Linked DNA regions of Homo sapiens: region 1 is linked to region 2. The links are contacts of gene promoters, found by promoter capture Hi-C in blood cells and fetal thymus (Javierre and others, 2016). All regions are on one chromosome and are shown on one strand. Each heading gives the region's core, a stretch centred on a gene start or on the middle of the fragment in contact. The rest is flanking DNA. Distances are from core to core; before and after follow the strand shown.

Evidence for each region. The method cuts DNA at HindIII sites, captures the fragments that hold promoters and counts their contacts. A CHiCAGO score of 5 or more calls a contact.
Region 1: a contact is called between a fragment that was not itself captured here and the fragment with the promoter of CFAP298 in region 2, in 6 of 17 cell types (M2 macrophages, M1 macrophages, M0 macrophages and 3 more). The highest score is 7.4, in M2 macrophages.

The regions. Positions count from the first base shown.
Region 1 is chr21:32,370,280-32,373,972 of GRCh38, forward strand. URB1 (URB1 ribosome biogenesis factor) reads right to left here. Exons shown (of 39, transcript NM_014825.3): 7 at 3,368-3,493; 8 at 2,228-2,352. Among named protein-coding and RNA genes, the nearest start is that of SNORA80A, 5.2 kb to the right of the region's middle. The HindIII fragment of the contact is 1,649 bases long and covers 927-2,575 here.
Region 2 is chr21:32,610,683-32,614,449 of GRCh38, forward strand. It overlaps CFAP298 (cilia and flagella associated protein 298), which reads right to left and starts at 1,695. Exons shown (of 7, transcript NM_021254.4): 1 at 1,423-1,695. The coding sequence starts at 1,561. It overlaps CFAP298-TCP10L (CFAP298-TCP10L readthrough), which reads right to left and starts at 1,695. Exons shown (of 12, transcript NR_146639.2): 1 at 1,423-1,695. RefSeq lists enhancers at 1,117-1,166, 1,827-1,936. The HindIII fragment of the contact is 6,059 bases long and covers 1-3,767 here.

The DNA of each region.
Region 1 (3,693 bases), core at 501-3,000, 240 kb before region 2:
ATAGTAAAAAAAGTTTTTTAAAAACCAAATTAGAAAGTATAATTTTGATCAGAAAAACTATCCTTTAAAAAAGGACATGAAAATATCCTTTCCTAATATGAAAATGTCATGAACAAAATAGTTTGTACTGTCAAATGAAAAGGATATTAAATCTACAAAGAGTGCTAAAAATACTACACATGCTTTATTTTAATCAACAACGTAATAAAATGGAGAGCATTAATATTTATGTAGTGCACAACACATGCCAGACACTGCTCTAAGCAGTTACCACCACGTCTCTGCGACAGGCACTACTTTTATTCCCACTTTATAGACAAGATAATGGAGGCAGAGAGGATGCCTAACCCAGTGAAGGTCTCAGAGCTAAGTTGGGATTGAAGCCCAGCTGTCTGCTCTGTTAACCTACACCAGCGACTGGCAAAGTAGGGCCCAGCACCTATCATTGTAATTTGATTGGGACACAGGTAAACCTACTTATTTACATCTATGGATGCTTTGCTGGCACAACTGAGTGGTCACAACAGACTGTGTAGGCTGCCAAGCCCAAAATACAATCTGGCCCTTTGTAGAAAAGTTTGCCAATCCTTGCTCTATGCTCTAACACCAGCTTTCAGTGAACACCTACTATGTGCCAGGCACTGTCCTAGGGACTGGAGGCCCATAATAGACCAGCGCCCGTTCTCACCACTTCTCACCAATCTGATAATGAACAAGCAAATAAATAAATCAGCAAATAAATGTATGAACAGTCAGAAGCCTAAGCCAGGCAAAAAGCACAGTGACAGTGGAGGGACTATTTCAGAAAGGGCTGTCCGGGAAGGCCTCCCTGAAGTGGTGAGGTCTGCACAGGAACCTGAATGAAATGAATGAGTGGGCCACGTGTCTACTGGGGAACAGGGAACGATGCAATTCAGTGTTCTCAAAGCTTTCTATCACCATCCACAAACAAATCTCCTTCCTTTCCCTTATGCACAAACACTTGTCTTTTGCCCATGGCTTCAAAATTCACATAAATCACAGCTTGCTGCAAAGAGACGCACACCCACAAGTTGATTCAATATGCTCATTAAATGCTCATCTATTTCATGGGCCTAGTTATGGAGGAAAAATGCTTTAAAAAGGGGGAACAATGCATGTGTTTTAAGCATGGTGTAATATTCTATTCGACTATAAAAGTCTGCTGTTATGTTTTGGCAGGAAAATGAGCTCATTCTTACTGATGAAAGAAAAAAGAAATGATGTGACAAGTTAAATCACAGTGACCTCAGAATCAAAACACGTCCAAAGTCATAAGCAGACAGAAAAACTCCCACCATGTTATTCCATTCTGAAGGAATCACCTGATTTCCTGACTGGCTGAAATTAGAAGTAAATCAAACTGCCTAAATCCTTGTGATATAATGCTAGGATAGAATAACAAGGATTAAACAATAAATCATTTACACATTTACAATGACAAGAAAACATGGCCAATATTTTTATTGTCAAGTGGGAAAAAAGCAGATAGGATGAACAGTAGTAAGCCATTTTTGTTATTAAAAAAAAAAATCACATAGACCTGTATTATACGATTACAAAAAGAAAGTCTTAAAGAATATGATCAAAACCAGTAGATTTGAACTTAATATGTTTCCTTACTGATGAAATGTTACCACAATTGTGAAATGTGAAACAAAATGTTAAAAAAAAAAACAATTTTGAAACCGTGACTCATGGGCAGCCTGTCAAGGAGAGGGAGGACTGTTTTAGTATCAGTTTGGAGCTGGACTTCCTGGATTCCAGTGCAACCTCTGCCATTTAACCAGTGTAAGTGTCTCGACCTCTCTAGAACTACTTTCTTCCTCTGCAAAGCTGGCATAACAATGGTACCTGCGTCAGGACTGCTGTGAGGCCCATGTCAGGGCCAACCCTCTCTGGCAAGGCAGACGCCTTTTCTGAGCTCCAGCTGACGAACACTGTCTTTAGGTAAACATCCGCAGCACCTCCCTGGGTGAAATATCCCATGACCTAACTAAGTGCTAATAGACAGCTACCCTCAGAACTGCCCCTGAGGACATGCAACAAGGAGAAGTTCTCTGGGACTACAACTGTTCAACCCTGAAACGAGTTAGATAATGTCCACAATTCTAGTTCTAACCTACTACAGTTCCACTAGACACTCACATATGTGGTGACTTCTGAGGAACATACACACCCTGGGGTCCACAAGAGTGTTATACTTTACCTGCCAAAGGTACCCAAAGATGCATCGTAAAAATTAATTCCATGCTTGAGTGAACAGCAAAGATCCATCAGGAAGTTATGAACAAGCTCCCGCACCATGGTTTTCCCTGCTTCTTCGGCAGAAACCTATGAAGATTTTTTAAAAATTCAATGAAAATCCCAAGCTCATACACTTTAGTAAGAGCTAGAGTAAAAACAAGGACAATATTAACTGCCGATGACAATTTAGAAAACATTTTAAATACTTGGTGTCATTCCAAACAATAAATGAAAACAACAACAAAAAGATACACCGATCAAGATAAAAGAATACTCTGAAGAGGGGCAAGTTTAAACCTGTATTTTTAAAAGCTTTAAAGTGATCTAATTTCTCTTGTTCATTTGAATAAAATTCCATATTTGGGAGTGTTTTTATGCAGCCTCTGAGGCTTGCTGGTCTAGAGCATACAAAAACATGTTCAAAACAAGAGGACCTGGGCAAGTCTCCAAGATAAAAGGAGGTGAAATATTAGGCTCTTGAGAGGTGAATTATTATAACGTTAACAGGAAGTCTGTGCCTTTACTACTCTGGCCAAGTCCATGTTCAGTAACACCCTGAAGAAAATTAAAATATACACTGGCATTGGGTCGATGTTAAGAGCAGCTGTTTCAATTTAGCACGAGTTAACTAGCACAAAATAAATTATATATGTCAGTAGGTGAGGCTCCTAGACATTCAGGATCCTGAGGTTAAAAACAAACAAACAAACAAAAAACACACAACAAGCCTTGAAACTCCAACAACTGGACATGAAAGAATGGAAGGATGGGAAGGCAGAGGTAAAGCAAGAGGAAAAGATGGCCGGGATGACCCTGCAGGTCTAACAGGCAAGTGCTGCAGGGAAAACTAAGATATGGCTCAGCCCAAGGAAATCATAGTTTTCTAATTAAAAAAAAAAATTATTAGCATGATTAAGAAATTAGGGGAAAAAAATCCTATTGCAGTTAGCAGAGGGTTAATACAACCATATAACCACAGTCAAAAGAAACAGATCAAATGAGGGGACTTCAAGTCTGGTGCGGTGTTGAGAATTCTCCCTCTCCCAACCCTGAGGATCAAATTCCAACAACGAGGTCAACGAAAACCAAAAAGTGTCTGCACCTTGACATTTTCTGGGTTCACATCGGTAATCCCATTCCAGTTGTACAGCGATGCTATGTGGTTCAATAACTGCCCCGTAAAGAAACGCACCTTCTGGGTTTTTGTGATATTTTTATTGTGAACTACCTGAAACAATAATAAAACAAATTATTAAAAAACAAATTATGAAAAAGTTCATGGAATTCAATTATTTTTTAAATGGTGCTTACTGTTTTCTCATCATTATAAAAATAATGCTTGCTAGTGGCAGAAAATTTGGTTTAAAAAAAGGAAAAACATAAAGGGAAATTCACCAATATTCCCAACCATCCTAGGATATCGTTACT
Region 2 (3,767 bases), core at 445-2,944:
TGTTGGAACCTCAATTAAGAAACTACACATAAGTTTCATGAAAAGAACCATGACCCTCAGGAATTTCTCCACGGTGCAAAACTCACATATTCATATAATGTAATCAATACATTTCATAATAAATCACATATTCATGCAATTTAATAAATCACATAAATGAATATACTATTTATTGCAAATAGTTACGTTTGTATATTCTATATATACACGATAGTTATATAAACAGTAATATCCTAGACCACATCAGGAAGTATCATCCCGTCAAGTTCAAAAACTATGCTGTCTAATGCGGCAGCTACTCGCTCCACTTGGCGATTTAAATTTATTTAAATTAAAATGACCCAGACGCGATGGATCACACTTGTAATCCTAGCACTTTGGGAGGCGGAGGCAGGCGGATCACCTGAGGTCAGGCGTTCGAGACCAGCCTGGCCAACATGATGAAACCCCGTGTCCACTAAAGATACAAATATTAGCTGGGCGTGGTGGTGGGCGCCTGTAATCTCAGATACTTGGGAGGCTGAGGCAGGAGAATAGCTTGAACCCGGGAGGCGAAGGTTGCAGTGAGCAGAGATCGCGCCACTGCACTCCAGCCTGGGCAACAGTAAGACCCTGTCTCTCACACACACACATACCATATATATATATATATATATAATTTATTTATATTTATATATACATATATATAATTTATTTATATTCATATATACTATATATATGGTATTTATTTATATTTATATATATTTAATTAATTAAAATGCAAATGTAAAATTCGGTTGCCTGGCCGCACTAGCCACATTCCAAATGCTCTACGGCCACAAGTGGCCGGCAGCTGCCCAATGGACAGCACAGATGGGGGCCCTTCCACCGCCGGAAAGTTCTGCGGCAAAGCGGGTGCCCTGGAACCTGCGCGGGGTAGGGAGACGGCGCCGCAACGCAACAGGCCGTTTCCAGGGCGGGGAAAGATCACCAAGGCTTCCTCAACTGTAAGGGGCCGTCCCAAAGCCAGGTGGCTCGCTGCTTTACATTGGGCGACTAAAAATAGTAAATTCAGCTTTTAAAAGCCCACCTAGTTCTCATCTCACCCCTCACACGTGATTAATTGCACTAAGTCTGCTGTTCAGCCCGGCCTTTCGGCTCCCTCCTCCCTCCCCAGCCCATTTCCACTTATTCGCAGCACCCCAAATCCTGGCTCCGAGAGGCACCTGGGCCCACCTCCCAGCCCGGGGTGTCAGACAGGCCGGATCTTCTCCGGTTCCTTATTCATCTCCGGTTAACCCTAGTGTCCCGTTTCAACCCCGGCTGCTGCAAATCTCTTCAATAATCTTCACAAACCTGACCCCTCGGCCCACCCTGCCCCTCTTTCTCCATCCCACGCCGGTCTCTCGATCTGTCCGGGATGGGCCCACCCGCGAGCCGCACCTGAGCAGAGGCGCTGCACCTTGAGCCGCCCATTATAGACCCGGGCCACCTGCACCGTGAGCTCCTCCAGCTCGGTACTCCCAGGCGCCTGCAGCAGGAACTGGCTCTCGTCGCCCCGCTTCACGTGCAGCAGAACCATGGCGGTCCCGCCGAGGTACTGAGGCGTTGAGAAGGCCCCGGCTGCGTGGCCCGCGGGTCCTGCCGGCCGAGGGTCGCCGGATCGCCAGCAGCTGCGACGCACTAACAGCCGCTCACAGTCCGGAATCCCACGCTCCCTAGCCCGCGGTGAGCGGGGGAAACGGCACTCGCTCCCGGAAGTGGATGTTGCCAAGAGCAACAGTGAAGCAGAGTTAAAGAGCCGCCAGCTCAAGCTCAGAACCCGAGTGGGGGAGGCTGGGGTGCACCGAGGCCCAGCAATCCAAGCCCGTACGGAGCTGCGGCCGGGGAAACCACCCACACAGTCTGAGAGGACAGCTGATTCTGAGCGGACCGACGGAAGGAGATTCGCAGAGCCCCTTCCCGGAAGTGACTGTTGTCGCGGCAACTGCCAAAACACAGACCAAGTCGCTGAAGGGGAGGGCGGACCTCCCAATCGACTGGTCTGGGGCCCGAGATTTCCACTCAGGGAGATACGTGGGCTGAGATGGGAGTTACTAGATGGGGAACGGGAAATACGGCGGGAACCACAATCGCGCAGTTCCGCAGCTGCCGCCCCACAACCGCTCCACATTCCAGCGTCCCTTCCGCCGCTTTCAGTCTCCACTTCCGGCAACGTTTCCACGCTGTTTCCGGCCTGGGAAAGTTCGGCGGCAGCGACCCAGAACTGAGTCTTGCTGTTCGCTGCTGTTTGCGCGGGTCAGCTTTTCAGGACGGAGGGGCCAGGGCGAGTGTCCGCACTTCTTCGTTCAGGTTGATTTGGATGGCGTTGCTGGGGTAGCTCCAGCGGCCCCTGCCAGAGCGACCCTCCCAGAAATATCCAGCCATCCTCCAGCGGACTCTTGCTGAAGGCAGTCGGCGTCAGTCGCTGTTTATTCCGGGCCCCACAGATCCAGAGTCACTGCTCTCATGGAGCTTATATTTTAGTGTGACAAAAAGAAAACAAAAATAAATGGACAGGCCAGGAGCGGTGGCTCACGCGTGTAATCCCAACACTTAGGGAGGCCGAGGAGGGCGGATCACCTGAGGTCAGGAGTTCGAAAGCAGCCTGGCCAACATGGTGAAACCCCTTCTCTACTAAAAATACAAAAATTAGCCGAACGTAGTGGCGCGTGCCAGTAATTCCAGCTACTAGGGAGCCTGAGGTGGGAGAATTGCTTGAACCCGGGAGGCGGAGGTTGCAGTGAGCCTAGATCGCGCCACTACCCTCCAGCCTTGGCGACAGAGTGAGACTGTGTCTCAAAAATAATAAATAAACAAACGGACAACACAAATTCAAATACAGATCTAAAGAAAACTAAACAGGTTGATGGACTTCTTATGTTTGATGGTCAGGGAATGTACACCTTCTGCGATATTGGGAGTAATATTATCGTCTCCCGCCCTGAATATTTAGAAAAATATCACAGTGGGGTGTACACCCCTGCGATATTGAGAGTAATGTCATCCTCTCCACCCAGGAAATTACTAACAAGGTCACGGAGGGGTGTACTCCCCCTGTGATATTGGGAGTAATGTTTTCCTCCCCAAACCTGGATGTTAGCAACAAGATAACAGAGGGGGTGTACACACCCTGCGATATTGGAAGTAATATGATCCTCTCCCCCCCGGATACTGGGAAAAATATCACAGCGCGGGTATACATTTCCTTCGCTGTTGGGAGTAATATCATTCTTTTCCTCTCTGGATATCAGGAACAATATCACAGGGGTGGTGTACATTTCCTTCGATATGGGGAGTAATATCATCCTCTCCCCGTTGGGATACTAGGAACAATATCCCAGGGGGGTGTCCACCCTCTGCGATATTGGGAGTAATATCATCCTCTGTTTCCCCGGATATTAGACACAATATCACAAAAAAGTGTACACCCCCTGCGATATTGGGAGTAATATCATACTCTCCTTCCCTGGATATTAGAAAACAATATCATCAGGGGTGAGCACCCCCTGCGATAATGGAAGTAATATTTTCTCTTTTTTTCTTTTCTTTTTTTTTTTTTTTTTTTTTTAACAGAGTTTCACTCTTGCTGCCCAGGCTGGAGTGTAATGGCATGATCTCGGCTCACTGCAGCCTCTGCCTCCCGTATTCAAGCGATTCTCCTGTTTCAGCCTTCCAAGTAGCTGGGATTACAGGCATGCGCTACCATGCCCGGCAATTTTTTTTTTTTTTTTTTTTTTTTGTATTTT